6 separate regions of the Homo sapiens genome follow, and regions 2, 3, 4, 5 and 6 are each linked to region 1. Evidence: promoter capture Hi-C in 16 types of primary human blood cells and fetal thymus (Javierre and others, 2016). All regions are on one chromosome and are shown on one strand. Each heading gives the region's core, a stretch centred on a gene start or on the middle of the fragment in contact. The rest is flanking DNA. Distances are from core to core; before and after follow the strand shown. Region 1 holds the start of CAAP1 (caspase activity and apoptosis inhibitor 1). Region 2 has its middle 4.0 kb from the start of HAUS6. Region 3 has its middle 3.0 kb from the start of APTX. Region 4 overlaps DNAJA1 (DnaJ heat shock protein family (Hsp40) member A1). Region 5 overlaps DENND4C (DENN domain containing 4C). Region 6 overlaps NDUFB6 (NADH:ubiquinone oxidoreductase subunit B6).

Region 1 (3,288 bases), core at 235-2,734:
TCTCAAAATGGAAAACTTGAGATTTCTTAACCGAGTCAAAGATATCTATAAAGCAATAAGCAGCTATAAGGAAGTGGGCTATAGGAAAAGTTGGTTAACGTTTAGCTATGCTTCTACTAAAAGCTTATCTTTTGTCACAAATCCAGCAATTTGGCAGGGCACGATGGCTCACGCCTGTAATCCCAGCACTTTGGGAGGCTGAGGCGGGTGGATCACCTGAGGTCGGGAGTTCGAGACCAGCCTGACCAACATGGAGAAACCCCTTGTCTACTAAAAATACAAAATTAGCCCTGCATGGTGGCGCATGCCTGTAGTCCCAGCTACTCAGGAGGCTGAGGCAGGAGAAATGCTTGAACCCGGGAGGCGGAGGTTGCAGTGAGCCGAGATTGTGCCATTGCACTCCAGCCTGGGCAACGAGAGTGAAACTCCGTCTCAAAAAAAAAAAAAAGAAAAAAGAAAAAATCTAGCAATTTAGTTTTATTAAAATTATGATGGTTTCAGGGACACAATTCATAACAGGTTTATAAATGTAACATGTTATTAATTTTATGTGTTTTTCCTATCTGTGAACACAACACTCTCAATCCTTTCAGGTATGACTCCAATGAGTGTGATACTTAACGGAACTCCTGGGAACACAGTGGGCTCAGCCCCAGGATTTACCTTACAAGGCCAATTTAAGAGTGGGGCCTGGGGGAAGACAGTTTTCCTAGGGCTGGAAGTGTCCCTATTTATTAACCCTAGGCTGGTTTTAGGCATTTAAGTAGTTGTTGAATGACTGAGACAAATAGGAGACAAAGAGAAGGGAAGCTTCTTTAATTGCTTCTTACCCCAGGGAAAGGCACAGAATTACTACCACCCAGCTAGCTTTGCCCCAGGCTCTACCTTTTTCCCTCAGTGGCTAAAGGCCCCTGCTGAAACGACAAAGACCTTGGTTCACGTTTTAAGTGTTCTAGCTCCCTTGTCTTAAAATCTGCCTTCTATTTAGATTACATCCACCCATAAAATCTCATAAAGCTTTGACCCATTCTCAATTTTCAAAAACGAACTCAAGCTCTACTTGTCCATGTCAGACTCTACGCAAGAAATACCTAATTTGCCCAGGTGATGAGGAAAATGAGATGGAACAACTTTTCCCTATTCTCTTTATTGTCATAGCGTTGTTAATATCTTAAGATTTGGAGGTAAACGGAAATGGAGAATCAGCAACTATACTTCAACCTTATTGTAAACAGACAAAACACTAACAATAAAAAGTTTTGAAGTTAAAAGGACGTAAGTTCCACCTTCTATCCTTTGTAGAGATATAAAAACAAAACAAAACAAACTCTGACTAGACAGGCTACCCGCTACACACTCAAATCGACCTCCGCGACCGGAGGGGGAAGCGCAACTGGTTATGGCAACCCCCCTGCCACCCCGGCCCATAACGCTTCACCACGTTCTGTGCCACGGCCGGAAGTGACGCATAACCTGCGACGCCAGTGCCTGCCGCCCACGGCCGCAGGAGTCGGGCTTCGGTCGCACCAGAGACAGCGGACTTTCCTCCGATGGTTGCAGCAGAGGGATCATGACGGGGAAAAAGTCCTCCCGGGAGAAACGGCGCAAACGTAGCAGTCAGGAGGCGGCCGCAGCGCTCGCGGCCCCGGACATCGTACCCGCGTTGGCCAGCGGCAGCAGTGGAAGCACTAGCGGCTGCGGGAGCGCCGGGGGCTGCGGGAGCGTCAGCTGCTGTGGGAACGCCAATTTTAGTGGAAGTGTCACCGGCGGTGGGAGCGGCGGCAGCTGTTGGGGCGGGAGCAGCGTGGAGCGCAGCGAGCGCCGGAAGCGGAGGAGTACCGACTCTTCCAGCGTCTCGGGCTCCTTGCAGCAGGTGCGTGCGCGCCCCTCTGGCCGCTTCCTGGAGCTGCTGCTTTTTCGGAAGAAGTCGGGCTTCCAGAGGGATGGGGCGCAGGCTGGAGCTCACTGCTAGCGCGGCAATCTCAAGGTCGTCCGTCCTTGAGGTTCATGTTCCTACCTAAGTCCTGGTGAGCCCCACACTCCCATCCGTGTCTTGAATCTTGAACTTCAAGTTTCTGGATTTCCTGATCACTTTTTTTTTAATTTATTTTTTAAACTCTTGGCTCCTTCCACTCCTATGGTTTCACTCTGCCGGAAGAATACGAGTTGGAAGCTAGCCTTCATTTCCCTTGCGAGCCAAACACTTCTCCCTTCGTCTTCACCTTTTCGTAGATATGGTTAACTCCGCATTAGAGATAAGAAAATTGAGGCCCAAAGAAGTTAAACTTTACCCACGGTCACAGAGTTTGTTAATAGCTCCTAGGTTTGAATCCAAATATCTGACTACAAAAGCCATGTTCTTTATACGCCACCAGTCTGCCAAGAGAACGCCGTTTTAAAAAAGTTCATAATTTGTTTGAAAACAAATGAATGAATAGGTACTTTAAATTCATTCAATGAGGAAATAAAGGGAAAGCGTCAAGTCCCTTTTCTTGCCCCTCCATTAGTATTTTGATACGCGGCCTCTTTTAATCACTCCTCGTGAGATACGTGTTTTTAAGTTCCTACACTTAAGCTGTATTGTGTTATTCCCGCTGTTGAATACCTGCATTGTTGTGATAGGCTTCTTTATATACGTGGTTTGTTATTTTTACTGACTGCCTGGTATTGTATTATATTTTTCTGATATTTGGGTGTGCAGGTTTTTTTGTATTGTTGTGACTACAATACAAACACCTTTATGTATATATCTCCTACAAGAGTTATGTTGGGAGAGAGTGTGAGAACTGAAATTCCTGGGTCAAAGTTTATGCTATTAAAAACTTATGAATGCCACCAAATGCTTTCCAAATGAGACTTTACAGATTTATAGTCCAAACAGTATATATATAAGAATACCTATTTCTGAGATTCTTAACTAGCTTTTGATGACATTTTGATGGCATTTTTTAAAAAAATTGCCAGACTAGTGGGTCAAATTAATAGTTTGTTTTAATTTTTATTTTCCTTATTAGTGAGATTGAACATTTTAATATTTTTATTTGCCATTTGATTTCTTCTTATGTAATTTTCTGTACATATCCTCTGCTCATTATTCTCTTTGGTAGAGTAGAAACAGTTTATGTAGAGATTTTATCAGGTGGTTTTCTGGCATTCTGTTGAGATGATCACATACTTTTTCTCCTTTAGTCAGATAATGTAATTTGTTGATAAGTTAGTTGATGTTGAACAGTCTTTGGAGTCTTGGGACAAGTGCTGTTTGGTTTGTTGAGTTTGTTGTACTTGGCT
Region 2 (3,183 bases), core at 128-2,627, 7.8 Mb after region 1:
TTCTGTGTCATATAATCATTTAATATAATTAAAGTTTAATTGCTGAAATACTTATAATGAAAATTGGGCTGTATAATCTTGACTTCATGATTTTTTTTCCCACTGGTATAGTGAACATTTGTTGTCTTTTGGTCTCCCATGATTCATTCATGCTTCTTTTGAAGGTCTCAGTGGGTATAGTGGTCAAGGTTTTTGCTTTCCCTTAGCCTAGTGATGGGCATGTGACTAAAAGCAGGTCACCTGGGAGGAAGCATAGCATGATGGGTAAGGGCTCAGACTCTGGGTTGTAATCTGGCTCTGCTGCTTACTGTGTGACCTTCAGCAAGTTACTTAATTTCTCTATGCCTCATTTTTTTCATCAGTAAAACAGGAATAGGGCTAAGTTTGCTCTGAAGATTAAATAGTTAACATTTGTGAAAAGCATAAAGCAGTGCCTGGCACAGAGCCGCATTAAGTATTAGTTGCCTGTAATCCCAGCACTTTGGGAGGCCAAGGCGGGTGGATCACTTGAGGTCAGGAGTTTGAAACCAGCCTGGCCAACATGGTGAAACCCCGTCTTTACTAAAAATACAAAAAAAAAAAAAAAAAAAAAAAATTAGCCGGGCTGTGGTGGCACAGGCCTGTAATCCCAGCTACTCAGGAGGCTGAGGCAGGAGAATTGCTTGAACCCAGGAGACAGAGGTTGCAGTGAGCCAAGATCACACCACCGCCCTCCAGTTTGGGTGGCAGAGTGAGACTCCATCTCAAAAAAAAAAAAAAAAAAAGTATTAGTTAAGGGAGTAAACTGTAGAAGCAATCCGGGGGCAGTGGCTCACACTTAGAATCCCAGCACTTTGGGAGGCCAAGGTGGGAGAATCACTTGAGCCCAGGAGTTCCAGACCAGTGTGGGCAATATGGTAAGACCTTCTCTCTATAACAAAAAACCTTAAAAAATTAGGCTGGGCACAGTGGCTCACGTCTGTAATCCCAACACTTTGGGAGGCCAAGGCGGGCAGATCACTTGAGGTCAGGAGCTCCAGACCAGCCTGGCCAACATGGTGAAACCCTGTCTCTACTAAAAATACAAAAATTTGTCAGGTGTGGTGGTGGACGCCTGTAATCCTAGCTACTCAGGAGGCTGAGGCAGAAGAATACCAGCCTAGCCTGGAATTCCTGGCCTCAAGTGATCCTCCTGCCTTGGCCTCCCAAAGTGCTGGGATTACAGGCATGAGCCACTGCGCCTAGCTGCCAAATCTTAGAATGAGGCCTAGTGAGTGAGAACTAAACTCTGATCTTTTTTCTTTCTTGTCCAAATTCCTATCTACAGAACTTGGGGAGTCATGTCCTACAAGCCATAAAAATCTCATCAGATGGGTTTTGTTGAAGCCTATATAACCCAGCTTACTTTCCAACCTGACTAGCATAATATCACATGACAGATAAAGAAGGAAATCAAAATATTTTTTCCCAAAATATGTTTCTTTGTTATATTTTGAAATGGTCCTGCAACGTCGTCGCTTATGGGGAGAAATCTACATCTGTAAAGAAGCTGGCTGGTGGCTCACGCCTGTAATCTCAGCACTTTGGGAGGCCGAGGCAGGCAGATCACCTGAGGTCTGGAGTTCCAGACCAGCCTGGCCAACACGGTGAAACCCCGTCTCTACTGAAAATACAAAAATTAGCTGGGCATGGTGGCGCATGCCTGTAATCCCAGCTACTTGGGAGGCTGAGGCAGGAGAATTACTTGAACCCAGGAGGCAGACGTTGCACTGAGCAGAGATGGCGCCACTGCACTCCAGCCTGGGCGATAGAGTGAGACTCCGTCTCATAAATAAATAAGTAGATCTTTCCCCTGGCAGGCCCTCCCAATCCTGAAGAGATTAACTGAGGATCCAATACTTGCTCTGTCACCCAGGCTGGAGTACAGTGGCGTGGCATGTGATCTCAGCTCACTGCAACCTCTGCCTCCTGGGTTCAAGGGATTCTCCTGCCTTAGCCTCCCAAGTAGCTGGGACTACAGGCGTCTGCCACCATGCCTAGCTAATTTTTGTCTTTTTAGTAGAGATGGGGTTTCACCATGTTGGCTGGGTTGGTCTTGAACTCTTGACCTCAGGTGATCTGCCTGCCTTGGCCTCTCAAAATGCAGGATTACAGGTGTGAGCCGCTGTGTCTAGCCTAAATTTTTTTTTTTTTTCTGAGACAGGGTCTTGCTCTGTTGCCCAGGCTGGTGTGCAGTGGCATGATGTGGGCTCACTGAAACCTCTGCCTCCTGGGCTGAAGCAATCCACAGCCTCAGCCTCCCAAAGTGTTGGGATTATAGGTGTGAGCCACCGCATCCAGCTTCTAGTACTTTTGGGTGGCCACCTATGAGACTTCATACTAACCCTGGTGTCCACAACCACTTATCTTGACCTAGAAACTTTTCTATGGATTCCAGGTCTTTAGATAGTAGCTTGACTCTAAACCAATGGCAATCATAAAATCTTTGTTGTTGTTGTTGTTGTTGTTTTGTTTTGAGACACAGTCTCACCCAGTCGCCCAGGCTGGAGTTCAGTGGTGTGATCTCGGCTCACTGCAATCTCAGCCTCTCGGGTTCAAGCGATTTTCCTGCCTCAGCCTCCCGAGTAGCTGGGATTACAGGTGCGCACCACCATGCCCGGCTAATGTTTGTATATTTAGTAGAGATGGGGTTTCACCATGTTGGCCAGGCTGGTCTCAAACTCCTGACCTCAAGTGATCCGTCTGCCTCGGCCTCCCAAAGTGTAGAGATTACAGGTGTGAGCCATCACATCCGCCCCAATCAGAAAATCTTTGAGTCCACCTATGACCTGAACCCACCACTTTGAGTTGCCTCACCTTTCTGTACAGAACCAATGTATACGTCACGTGTATTGATTGATGTCTTATGTCTCTCTAAAACTGTATAAAACAAAGCTATAGCCCCATCATCTTGGGCACATGTTCTCAGGAACTCTTGAGACTGTGCCTCAGGCCATGGTCATTCATATTTGGCTCAGAATAAACCTCTTTAAATATTCTGTTAGAGGAACCCCTGCTTACCAGACCTCTGGTTTAATAAAACATGACTAGAGTGACTCCATCTTAAAGTAGCTAGGCACTTACAAGGCTCCTATAAAATTAATGCTTATGGTTTAAAAATAGCCACATTCTAAGCTGGCCACCAATTATAATTACAGAATATTT
Region 3 (3,286 bases), core at 420-2,919, 6.1 Mb before region 1:
TCCTGATTTTTAAAAAAAATTCTTTTTATTAAAATTTTTTTTATAGAGAGAGGGTCTTGCTATGTTGGCTGGGCTGATCTTGAACTCCTGGCCTCAAGCAATCCTCCTGACTCATCTTCCCAAATGCTGGGATTACACACATGAGCCACTGAGCCCAGCCAGAATCCAGGTTTTCATGTGAGATCTCATTTCTAACTGTTGGAATTAAAACAAACAAACAAACAAACAAACAACAAAACCCTGAGCAGAGTAGCCAAAAACAATCTTGAAAAAAAAAAGAATAAAGTTCTTATACTTCCTGATTTCAAAAAGTATTACAAAGCTATAGTAATCAAAACAGTGCAGTACTAGTGTAAAGACAGACATACAGACTGATGGAATACAATAGAAATCCCAGAAGTAAATCCTTGCATAAATGATTAAATGATATTCAGTAAGTATGTCAATACCATTCAGTGAGGAAAGGGCAGTCTTTTCAACAAATGATATTGTTAAAATCTGGGTATCCACATGCAAAAAATTGAAGTTGGAGCCTTACCTTACATAGTACAGAAAATGAACTCAAGGCCAGGCACAGTGTCTCACACCTGTAATGTCAGCACTTTGGGAGGCTGAGGCAGGAGGATTGCTTGAGCCCAGGAGTTCAAGATCAGCCTGGGCAACATAGCAAGACCTCTGTCTCTATTAAAAAAAAAATTAGCCAGGCTTGGTGGGACATGCTTGTAGTCCCAGCTACTTGGGAGGCTGAGGTGGGAGGATTGTTTGAGTCTGGGTGGTCAAGGCTGCAGTAAGCTGTGATTGCATCACTGCACTCCAGCCTGGGCAACAGAGCAAGACTCTGTCTCACAAAAACAAAAACAAAAACAAAAAACAAAAAAATAAAACCACACCTCAAAAATGGATCAAAGACCTAAACATAAGACCTAAAACTATAAAACTCTTAGAAAACATAAGGGAAAAGTTTCATGACAGATTTGGCAATGTTTTCTTGGATATAACACCAAAAGACAGGCAGCAAAAGTAAAAATAGGTAAATTAAAGTACTTCACAATTAAGTTTTGTGCATCCAGGGATACAGCCAGCAAGCAGAGTGAAAAGCACCCTATGAAATGGGAATCTTATATTTGATCAGAGGTCAATATCCAGAATATATAAAGAACTCCTACAACAAAACAAAACAAAAATAACCCCATTAAAAAATGAAGTACTTGAATAGACATTTCTCCAAATACATACAAATAGACAGGAAGCTTATGAAAAGATCAACATCACTAATCATTAGGGAAATACAAAGCAAAACCACAATGAGATACCATTTCACACCCATTAGGATGGCTGCTATCAAAAAAAAGTAACAAGCGGCCGGGCGCAGTGGCTCACACCTGTAATCCCAGCACTTTGGGAGGCCGAGGTGGGTGGATCACAAGGTCAGGAGTTTGAGATCAGCCTGGCCAATATGGTGAAACCCCATCTCTTCTAAAAAAAAAAAAAATACAAAAATTACCCGGGTGTGGTGGCAGGCACCTGTAGTCCCAGCTACTCAGGAGGCTGAGGCAGGAGAATCGCCTTAAGCCGCGAGGTGGAGGTTGCAGGGAGCCGAGATTGCACCACTGCACTCCAGCCTGGGTGACAGAGCGAGACTCCATCTCAAAAAAAAAAAAAAAAAAAAGGGTTGGCAAGAATGTGGAGAAATTGGAACTCTTGTACACTATTGGTAGAAATGTAAAATCATCCAGCTGCTATGGAAAACAGTGTGACAGTTCCTCAAAATATTAAAAATGGAATTACCATATAATCCAGCAGTTTCACTTCTGTGTATATATTCAAAATAATTGAAAGAAGAATTTTTAAAAATTGTTTCACATTAAAAACAAATTTCAGTGGCTTTAGGGGTACAAATGGTTTTTGGTTTCATGGATGAAGTGTATAATGGTGAAGTCTGAAATTTTAGTGTACCTATCACCCGAGTAATAGTTACACCCAATATGTAGTTTTTTAAAATCTCTCATCTTCCTCCCACTCTCTCCACTTCTGAATCTCCAATGAACATTATACCACTCTGTATGCCTTTACATACCCAAAGCTTAGCTGCCAATTATAAGTGAGAACATGTGGTATTTGGTTTTCCATTCCTGAGTTACTTCACTTAGAAAAATGGCCTCCAGTTCCATTCAAGTTGCTTCAAAAGACATTATTTCATTCTTCTTTATGGCTGAGTAGTATTCTGTGGTGTATATGTACGACATTTTCTTTATGCATTCATCAGTTCATGGGCATTTAGGTTGGTTCCATGTTCTTGCAATTGCAAATTGTGAAAACAGGATCTCAAAGAGATATTTATACACTCATGTTCATAGCAGCATTATTCACAATAGCCAAATGGTGGAATATCCACGGGTGGATGAATGGATAAAGTATGGTGTGTACATGCAATGGAGTGTTATTCAGCTTTAAAAAGGAACTTTTTACACATGATACAATGTGGATGAAACTTGAGGACATTATATTAAGTGAAATAAGCCAGTCGCAAATGGGCAAATACTGTCTGATTTTACTTACATGAGGTACCTAGAGTGGTCAGACTCATGAAAACTGTAAGTAGAATGGTGGTTGCCAGGTGGGGGAGGGAAAATAGGGAGCTATTTAATCGATACGGAGTTTTTTTTTTGAGGCAGAGTCTTGCTCTATCGCCCAGGCTGGAGTGCAGTGGAGTGATCTTGGCTCACTGCAACCTCTACCTCCCGGGTTCAAGCAATTCTTCTGCTTCAGCCTCCCAAGTAGCTGGGACTACAGGCGAGTTCCGCCACGCCAGGCTGGTCTTGAACTCCTGACCTCAGGTAATCCACCTGCGTTGGCCTCCCAAAGTGCTGGGATTACAGGTGTGAGCCACCGTGCCTGGCCGAGTTTCAGTTTTTCAAGATGAAAAAGTTCTGGTGATTAGCATGGCAATATGAAGTGCCTGAAAGTCTTCACTGCCTGCCATACCTTTAGCTATACATTGTGCCATGTGATCTTGCTTTTCTGGCCACTAATACACTATAGACAATGGACTAGGCCTAACAAGCAGGACGTGGAAACTCTGCCCAATTTTGCACATTATATAGTGAATGATGTAATTAGAATGATCCAATCCAACTTTTGGATGCAAGACACACAAAGGCAGGTCAAAGAAGCACCCTTAACCGAGAGGGATGCTTAATTGAGGGAACAACAAAACTGGTCAGGTCACCAGAGTTGCCTCTTTTTATCTTGGGCAGTTGTGAACAACATTCCTCAGCTGTAAGGC
Region 4 (3,093 bases), core at 567-3,066, 6.1 Mb before region 1:
CTCAAGTGATCCTCCCACCTCAGCCTCCCAAGTTGCTGGGAATATAGCATGCACAGAGGGTGTTATGTTAGCCATGGATCACAAACATTTGCTGTTAATCATCCATCTTTCTTGTGCTTCAGTGTTCATCATACTCATTATTTAGCTCAAAATGGTAGACCTGAATTTATACTTAGTATTGAGTTACAATTTAAGTTTCCTACAGAGATGCTTTTGGATATTTATAATTAAAAGCAATTCAATTTATCATAAATGAGATTGAAAACTGGTGAGAGCTTTAAGGCACTTAAATTGCTTTACAAAGATTGAGGGCAAATTTTTGTCCAGGGATGTTTTCCCCACCCATCTGCTGCTTAGGTTCACACAAAACATCTAATTGAAACACATTTTCAACGTTCCATACTTAGAGACAAAAAGCTAAAAATCTGATCCTATGTATTCAACCTCTTATGATCTGAACAATGGTTAACAATCTTCCTGAGAAATAGGTTCTAAGAGTAATGGAAAACACTTTAAAAAAAACAAAAAAACAAAAAACAAAACCAACAACCCAAATATGTGATATCAATTTGAGTGGTTGATAAAAGTCTTTACCGAGTAAAAACAGCATGGTCCTTCTGATCTAACACAATGATAATATCGCCTGGCTCCAGTCCTGGTTCTTGGTCTCCTTCACCATGGAATGTTATCTTCTGGCCATCTTTCATGCCTAAAAACAAAACATTAATTTTGTACTTTTATTAAATATCCAACTAAGGTCAGAATCATAAAATCTATACATAGATGTTTGTTTATGCATAAAAATCACAGAAATGACTAAGAAAGCCCACTTAAGTAGTTCAGTCCAATTTGCTCCTGAAGAAAGGTATCATAGTGGAGAACACAAACTCCAGAGGCAAAGAGACTAGCCTTCAAATCTCAGAGCTGCTATTCACTGGCTGGATTACCCTGGGGAAGTAAGCTGCATATCCTTTCCAAGTTTCAACTTTCCCACAGACACCTACACCTCATTAGCAATATTTAGAGTATTAACTCAACAGGTATATGCTGGTACTAAACCATGACTGGCTAACACTGGTTATAACCAAAAAATGTTAATTAAGTATTTCAGTTTCATTACTTATAACACATCAAATTACTTCTATTAAAAGTCTAACAGCAATGTAAATCAAGACCCTTCTATTGTAGTATTTATATATAAAACTAAAAAAATTTTAAATCTATAATCTTCTCTTGAGATAGGATCTTGCTCTGTTGCCTAGGCTGGAGTGCAGTGGCACAAACATGGCTCACTGCAGCCTCCATCTCCTGGGCTCAAGTGATCCTCCCACCTCAGCCTCCCGAGTAGCCAGGACCACAGACCAGCTAATTTTTGAATTTTTTTTTTTTTAATAGAGATGGGGGTTCTCATGTCGCTCAGGCTGGTCTTGAACTACTGGGCTCAAGGGATCCTGCCTCGGCATCCTATAGTGTTCGGATTACAGACCTGAGCCCCTGTGCCTGAAAATCCGTATTTTAAAGAACTATTCAGTATAGTCCCCTTAAAAAAAGGGTAATTATACTTTGAGAGGCCGAGTCAGGAGGATACCCTGAGGATAGCACCCTGGAGCACAGGAGTTCCAGACCTTGTCTCATTTAAATTAAACAAGCAAACAAAACAATCAGTGCTAGACACTCCCTTAGCCCATGTGGTCCGTAAAATACAAGGGGAGGAGTATTTTCTAACAGGGCAAAAAAACACGCCTTTTTTTTTTTTTTTAAACTGAGACTTCGTGCCCCTCACCTCTGACCCACATATTTTAGTTCAGTAAGGGTTTGGGCAACGTCTCTTAGAACATAACTCATGTAAGAAAACCTGTGTTTGTAGAGTATTACACCAAAGCAGTTATCTCCTGATTATTTCCCAAGATCACTCTGGTTACCTAACAGAGCAATCATGTTTCACCTTTACGTATGGAAAATATTAATCCTGTATAAACAGAGCCAACAGTACAATGAATTCCTACATATCCATCCAATTTGGCTTCAGCAGTTACTAACTCATGACTAATATTTCATGTATTACACCCCTACGCATGCCCCCCACATATACTTTCAAGCAAACTCCAACTATATCCATTAACCCACAAATACTTCAGTACGTACCTCTTAAATAAGGACTTAAAGCGCTATCAGTATCATACACTGACAAAATTAAACAATCTGTCTTTAATCGTGTATTGAGGCAAAATAACTTGTTATGCTAGGGAAGCAATTAAACTCAGCTAGGTTTTCCTGAATACAGAGTAAGAGTAGGCACAGCACAAATGCCTTCACTTGCTATATAGTTAGGGCATTAATTTCAAGTTCTCACTTACAGTCCATTGTTGATAGGTTCTTGGAAATTGCTTTAAATGAAATGACACATAACAAGACCAATTTTTTTCCCCTCAGCTGTGTTACAGTGACATGACATTATTTGAGGACCTGCATGACATTATTTGAGGTCATTCTGCTAGAAGTCCCAGTTTCCAAGAACCTATCAACAACGTTAAGACTTACTCTGTATGCTATTGGTATCAAGAACACCTCAAAGTATAAACCTTAGGCATGGGCCCACTAAGGGGTAAACACAGATTTATTAAGTTCAACAACTGGCCAAGGAAACTTATTTTTACCTTTCAATGTACTACATTCTTGGGTGGAACCCTGGGGGTCAGAGAGGCCAGTATCATGAGTCACATGATAGAATCCTATTGCAGCCACTTATGTTAATGTAGATTTGTATATTAATATGGAAATATGTTCAAATATTAACAGTTCCAGATTGGTATCATACCACAGTACAGTATAATAGTAGACCCATTTATAAACAGCAAAATCTGAAAAGAGATTACCATAATGTTGACTTAAGTTTCCTTCTGGGGTTATATACATTTCTTAAAATTTCTGCAGTGTATTGCTGTAATACATTTTAAAATGTTTTTGCAAGTTGACAAGAGTAAAATTTAAAAATTGACAAATCAATCAAATCCCGAGAATACAAAAAAAAGGTTATATAGTTATTTCTAAATCTGGAGCCCAATGGGTTAGGGAAGTGTCAAGTCTAAAAAA
Region 5 (3,219 bases), core at 224-2,723, 7.5 Mb after region 1:
ACTCTCAGACAGTGCAAAAGATCCATTTTGAAGGTAATGAAAATTGTACATAATTTCTGACAAATTGTTTCATTTAGCATTTTCACAATAAATTCACACTAGAATTCTGCATAGGTCAGATTAACCCTGAAATGTTGAAAGACTGGTACAATAACTATAATTTGTAAATGGTTACATCAGGTAGAAGGGAGTTAGGTTGTTACTGTACCATATGGAAGTAATTTTACTGTGTCAACTCATTTAGTCATCTGCATAATTACTGTAAACACACACAAAACCAATGGCTTTTTAAACCATGCAGAGAGTTAAGGCAAACTTACTGTTCCTAAGGGATATTTTTAATAAAAGGCATGATAAATGTCAAAGTGAGGCATGTGAGATCATGATTTTCTTAAACCTACTGGCAACAAGCTTAATAAATTTACAGTTTTAAGACTTAATTGATTCAACCTAAAAACACAGTATTTACAAATGCACATTTTTACTCACAAGCATACAAATCTAAATATACAAGAATAAAACTTCCGTGTGCAGTGCAAGTTTATCCCACAGGTTTTAAAAAGTCATCAATACCAACAATGTATGTGCCTGAAAAAAGATTTCATGTTCAATGACATACACTTTAGCATTTTAAGCACATTCCAATGAATTCCATAAATTATTAGGCAGCTGATTTAATTTCATTTTAACTATCTGATGATTGATTCATTTGTTCCCATTTTAAAACTATTGCAAATTAACATTGGGAAGAGGATGGAAGTAACTGGATAATCAAGATAAAACCCATTAAGCAAGATAATACATAATATGAAAGGTGTATTATGTTGGTACAAAAATAATTGCGGTTTTTGCCATTAATAGTGGCAAAAACTACAATTAATTTTGTGCCAACCTAATACATTAAAGTTAGGGAAGGCAGCTGTCATCAGATTTTCAGGTAATTTTAAGATTAATGACTACAGACAAGTTTAGTAGTAGTCATTTATTTAATAGTCAATGAGACCCCTTTCAGAAAACCGTATTGCAACATGCAATCTATTTTAATAAATATACACTTAGAATATGGCTGTATATACACATACCTACACAGCCCTACACATATACAAACTTACACAAATATGTTGCTCTCTTTTTTTTTTTTTTTTTTTTTTGAGACGGTCTCACTCTGTCACCCAAGCTGGAGTTGCAGTGGCGTGATCTCCACTCACTGTAGCCTCTGCCTCAGTTCAAGCGATTCTCCTGCCTCAGCCTGAGTAGCTGGGACTACAGTGGTGCGCCTGGCTAATTTTTGTATTTTTAGTAAAGACAGGGTCTCACCGTGTTGGCCAGGCTGGTCTCGAACTCCTGGCCTCAAGTGATCCACCCACCTTGCTCAGCCTCCCAAAGTGCTGGGATTACAGGCCTGAGCCACCGTGCCCGGCCATGTTGCTTTTATAATTGAGATATTTCATTTGTTTTGGGGGTTAGGCAAATTTAATTTGCCATTCCTCAAACTCAGTAACTTCAAATATAAACAATGCCTAGAATGAATATGGTTCCTCATTATTTCTATCAAACTACTACAAATACTGAAGAATCCCAAAGTAGTTTTCCACAGAGGCAGAAAAGCAGTTCAGGGGTTGAAAATCTTCAATATTAATAAGCCCTGGGACATTCAAATGGCACTTCATATTTCAAGGTAATGCAATATGAATCATAATTCATTATATATTGTCCCCAAGAGTTACTTCAATTCCGTATTCACCAGTTCTTACGATTTGGAAAAAAAAACTTGAATGTTTCCAGATGAAATCTAATCCCCAAGCCTTGTGTGTCAACATTCTAGTGAATCTCTATTTAAATGAGAGGCGCTCCAAAACACTTCCTGCACCACTCGACACTGGCACTTGGTGGAGCATCAATTTTCTGCAACCTTTCAAGAATCTCTGAAGACAGACTATTGTATGCAATTCCATATTCATTGTCAAATGCCTCTGAAAGAAATTTTCAAAAATGAAGTTGTAATTTGTTAAGAAAGACAACAGCCGTTCATTTCAAATTGGTATTGAGTCAAATTATATGTATTTGAACTATATATTTAGAAGTAGAAATCTTTTAAATCTTTTATACATACCAGCTACATTTTTAAAAATTACTTTTGAAAATAAAATGTAAAACTTCCTTTCATAATCTTTTATTAACCAACTTACCAATATCAATATTCTCTCTTCCTAGAGACACTAATGATAAGAAGAGGATTTCTCTGTATAAACTCCTATAAAACAAATATGTTTTAAAAGTCAATGGGCAAATAGCATAAAAACACAGATGCATTTTTTTTAATGGTGAAGACATTAAGTTCTGTCATCTAGTTAATAGTAATATAACTATGTCAATGTCCTGGTTTTAATATTACATTACAGTTAGTTATATGAGGTGTCACATTTGGAGGAAGCTGTGTGAAGGCTACATTGAATTCTGTACTATTTTTGTAACTTCCTGCAGGTTTCTATTCCAAATTAAAGTTAAAACATAGTTAATGGGCATAAAGCTTCACACTAGTAACAAAAATGGCTTAACTTTATTACATTTCAACAATACATAACTGTTTTAACTCTAATTTCTAAATAAAATTTACAAAAGCAGAGTCTTCTCTCATCTTTTGTCACTTGACAAAGTAACAGATTAATTTCTAAGTAAGTTAGGGGTCTAAAACCCTTGACACAAACAATGTAAAAGGTGGTGTGGTCTCTTTACTATTTAACCCAATAGCAAAGGACAGTTCACCTTTATTTGGTTTGTGAGCATTAAAATGTTACAAATGAAACACTAAAAGTGAGCTTCATGACTCAGTTGTTAAAGATGACAGGAAAACTTAAGAAATGCACTGATGTACAGAGAAAAAAAAGACGTAAGGCTGATTCTAGTGACACTTGGTATCACTTTCTTTAGAAGCTTCAGAAGCCATAATATGACATTTCTAATATTACATTCCTGTCCTTAAACTACAGATGCTTGAAGCAAGCTACTCATATTACAGACTGTGAAGAAGGTCATCTCTACCTCAACTACTGATAGTAAAAATGGATCCATCCATTTTCATTATCAATTCTTGCCCTGTCACTTCTGAGATTATCTTCAAAGATGCCATGACCTAAAAAACTTGAAGGGGACCATGGAAACATTAGGAATGTTTGATATACGCGATTACGCACACTATTCTGAAGCTTCTACTGCAAA
Region 6 (3,153 bases), core at 394-2,893, 5.7 Mb before region 1:
ATCGAATATGAGGTTCCAAGATTGTGATACAAAGATACGGCAGGATGTCTCAGGGGATGATTTTTAGGATCTAAGCTTAGAAGTAGCTTACATCACTTCTGCTCAAATTCTGTTAGCTAAAACTCACTGTCATCTTCCCAAATATTATCTGTGTGCTCTTTGCTATTTCCCAGACCCCTGTTCATGGAGTTTCTGCTACATTCCATCTTTCTAGTCACCAAACAGCTCTTGGCTTCTTTCTTTACCCATGCATAACACACTTAGTCTCTCTCCTTAGGGAGAAATCCCAAAGTCCCATTCCATCATTGCACCCCGGCCCCAAATCCATGATCTCCAGATGATGTAAAATAGTATGTCAGGTTTATATATGACTTCTGTTGATCTGAGGATCAGTGAACTAAGAAGACAAGTTAACTGTATCCTTGTCCCCCAACCACACCCATTGTTCAGTGGTAGAATTTGGATAGCATAGTAGTCACTGGTTCTTGGCAATCCTGAAATCTCACTCCTAACCCGTGTGTGAGAAATTACTTGAATGGGCACTGATTTTGTTTTCTTGAAAGAACACCTTTATCCATCGTTCTTCCTGGTTCCTGGCTCTGTCCAGGGGGTTTGTTCTTTTCATTATCTACCTAGACCACATCTAAATGGTATTGGGAAGCATGCCCTCCTTAGGGGGCTGTATGGGCTTCAGAATCTGCCACCTGCTTGCAGGAGGTTGAATGCCAGAGGTTGTTTTAATTTCAAACATTCTGGCAGGATTCTGTAAACTATATGTTTGGTTTGTCCATCCATTTCCCTTAACATTTAGAAGCATGAAAAGAAAAATATTTGGTAGACATCTAATGTGTTTACTTCTAGTCAGTGTCTCATGCCAGTATCTGTTTTTCCTATACACAGTTACCAGCTTGTCTCATTTCTTTGTCCTTATGCATCTGCCTCTCTCACCTCTGTGGCAGCTATGTGGAGGCCATCTGAGGCAGACTGGTTCAAAGGCTACCTTCATTTTAAACTGATCTTTGCCATAGGGCTGTGTCCCTCTGTTTGAGTTTTATTGGGCTTCTGTTGCTCAGATTTCTTGTGTTAACTTATTGTTTAGGAATTCTGAAGTAGTGTGATTTTTCAATACCACAAGGTCCTGATTTTTTATTTATTTTTTAGATACAGGGTCCTACTCTTGCTCAGGCTGGTTTTGAACTCTGGGCCTCAAGCAATCCTCCTGCCTTGGACTCCCAAAGTGCTGGGATTACAGGCATGAGCCACCATGACTGGCCCAAATTTTTAGATTCTATTAACTTTTTTTTTTTTTGGTCAGGAACAGAAAGTCTCTAGCGTGCACCAAAGTGTTCTCTCGTCCTCTCCATTTTTATGTCGCCTCTCAAATCAGCCACTTTTTGCCTGAGCTCATGCTTCTTAAAGTACATTCCCAAGGCATCCAAGGATCCCAAGGATCCAAACACATACTATAACTTTTTTTCCCAGCTACTTCTTCTAGAACCTCAAGTTCATTAGGCAGTCAGCTTCCAAGTTATAGGAGATATTTTGCTAAATAGTTTGCCACTGCCTTTTGTTTCCATCTTTATCTTTGCTACCAGACTGCTAAGCCAGTGCCCTATAGCTTGATTTTTATTACAGCAGCATTAGTGCCACTTCAAGGCAATGATTTCTATTGGGATAATGCTAGCTGTACTAACAAATTGTTGCCCAAATGTATAATGGCATAAACATATTTATTTTTTCATTGGACTATAATCCTGAGCAGTACCAGGTCAGGGAATGGCAGGGATTGGGGTGGGTATGGGGACAATTCTACTCTTCCCAGTCATTCAGGGACTGGCAGGCTAACAGAATCTATCTTAAACACATGGCTGAAACTGAAATTGAATAATCTGTCTTAAAACTATACAGCTTGTCAGTGGAGGTTCCAAGATTCTTACCACTTGGTTCTGGCTTCAATGCCCATGCCTTTTTGCCCACATCTATATCAAGAATTGAAAAGACATCTGGACCAGCTGCCTAGCCAAAGTTTGTATTCTGTATTCAGTATGTAAGCCAATCAGAAAACTGGTGATTGCGTAACACATTCAGTTGCTGGGGGTACATTACCTCCTTATCTGGAACTGCAGATGTTTCCTTGCAACTTCTTTCTGGGGCCTCCATTTATTGGGGTCATACAAAATAAAAGATTATCCCTTTATCACTTAGAGAACACAATTTTCGTGCCCTTTTTGATTATTTTGTTTCTGAGTGAAAATTTCCCTATTATTTCACTATACCTTAAAATTTTGAATACTGATTGTTCAGATTTAGTCAGCTTCTACTTTGTCTAGGGTCCTTTTAAAGGGAATGCCAGAACTCAAGTACATTTTCCATGTGAGATCTGATGAACATAGAACAGAATAGAACTATCACCTCTGTAGACTTAAGATTTTTGTACTAACTGTATCTTTGTTTTCCTAGGGTGATACAATTCTGGAGACTGGAGAAGTAATTCCACCAATGAAAGAATTTCCTGATCAACATCATTAAAGATTATGTAAAAAGTTAAAAGGCTTATGAGCCTAAGTTTGTTCCTATATTACCATATTTACTGAATTTTCTGGAAAAGTAACTTTAATAAAGTTTAATCTCAGAAATTGTCATATCTGTTTTCAAGCATTGTACAATTTGAGACTGAGTAATTTAACAATAAGTAAAAAGTGGACATGCTAAACAAATATGAGAGACTACCTACTTTTTCTGGTCATTCTTGACTTGGAAAACGGTATGGAAAAGTATTTAGTTACATGTTTGTTTGTTTTTTTCTTACACAGTACTTACACTAATTTGGTATCAGGGTATGCAACAGTGAAATATCACAATAAACAAATGTAAGAACAGCAATTCCATGCACTTTTGTTTTAAGGAAATCTTTCCGGCCAGGCGCAGTGGCTCATGCCTGTAATCCCAGCACTTTGGGAGGCCGAGGCGGGCAGATCACGAAGTCAGGAGATCGAGACCATCATGGCTAACACAGTGAAACCCCGTCCCTACTAAAAATACAAAAAAATTAGCCGGGCGTGGTGGCGGGCTCCTGTAGTCCCAGCTACTGCGGAGGCTGAGGCACGAGATTGGTGTGAACCCAGAAGGCGGAGCTTGCAGTAAGCCGAGATA

The links. The method cuts DNA at HindIII sites, captures the fragments that hold promoters and counts their contacts. A CHiCAGO score of 5 or more calls a contact.
Region 2: a contact is called between a fragment that was not itself captured here and the fragment with the promoter of CAAP1 in region 1, in 2 of 17 cell types (activated CD4 T cells and naive CD8 T cells). The highest score is 9.0, in activated CD4 T cells.
Region 3: a fragment that was not itself captured here is called in contact with the fragment with the promoter of CAAP1 in region 1 in 5 of 17 cell types (naive CD4 T cells, non-activated CD4 T cells, fetal thymus and 2 more); the score reaches 8.9 in naive CD4 T cells.
Region 4: a fragment that was not itself captured here is called in contact with the fragment with the promoter of CAAP1 in region 1 in 1 of 17 cell types (total CD4 T cells); the score reaches 5.1 in total CD4 T cells.
Region 5: a contact is called between a fragment that was not itself captured here and the fragment with the promoter of CAAP1 in region 1, in 1 of 17 cell types (total B cells). The highest score is 5.5, in total B cells.
Region 6: a fragment that was not itself captured here is called in contact with the fragment with the promoter of CAAP1 in region 1 in 3 of 17 cell types (non-activated CD4 T cells, total B cells and naive CD4 T cells); the score reaches 10.8 in non-activated CD4 T cells.

Annotation. Positions count from the first base shown.
Region 1 is chr9:26,890,998-26,894,285 of GRCh38, reverse strand. CAAP1 (caspase activity and apoptosis inhibitor 1) reads left to right here and starts at 1,484. Exons shown (of 6, transcript NM_024828.4): 1 at 1,484-1,873. The coding sequence starts at 1,571. RefSeq lists enhancers at 1,255-1,324, 926-1,505, 1,455-1,674, 1,755-1,934, 1,506-2,085. The HindIII fragment of the contact is 2,677 bases long and covers 1,020-3,288 here.
Region 2 is chr9:19,105,268-19,108,450 of GRCh38, reverse strand. It overlaps a transcript of PLIN2 not described here. Among named protein-coding and RNA genes, the nearest start is that of HAUS6, 4.0 kb to the right of the region's middle. The HindIII fragment of the contact is 3,804 bases long and covers 1-3,183 here.
Region 3 is chr9:33,003,014-33,006,299 of GRCh38, reverse strand. It overlaps a transcript of APTX not described here. Among named protein-coding and RNA genes, the nearest start is that of APTX, 3.0 kb to the right of the region's middle. The HindIII fragment of the contact is 833 bases long and covers 1,253-2,085 here.
Region 4 is chr9:33,031,832-33,034,924 of GRCh38, reverse strand. DNAJA1 (DnaJ heat shock protein family (Hsp40) member A1) reads right to left here. Exons shown (of 9, transcript NM_001539.4): 6 at 595-709. Among named protein-coding and RNA genes, the nearest start is that of DNAJA1, 8.1 kb to the right of the region's middle. The HindIII fragment of the contact is 7,193 bases long and covers 1-3,093 here.
Region 5 is chr9:19,370,791-19,374,009 of GRCh38, reverse strand. DENND4C (DENN domain containing 4C) reads right to left here. Exons shown (of 33, transcript NM_001330640.2): 32 at 2,190-2,254; 33 at 1-1,973. The coding sequence ends at 1,837. Among named protein-coding and RNA genes, the nearest start is that of RPS6, 7.8 kb to the left of the region's middle. The HindIII fragment of the contact is 2,119 bases long and covers 414-2,532 here.
Region 6 is chr9:32,553,252-32,556,404 of GRCh38, reverse strand. NDUFB6 (NADH:ubiquinone oxidoreductase subunit B6) reads left to right here. Exons shown (of 4, transcript NM_002493.5): 4 at 2,461-3,153. The coding sequence ends at 2,529. It also overlaps a transcript of SMIM27 not described here. Among named protein-coding and RNA genes, the nearest start is that of TOPORS, 2.2 kb to the right of the region's middle. The HindIII fragment of the contact is 3,131 bases long and covers 78-3,153 here.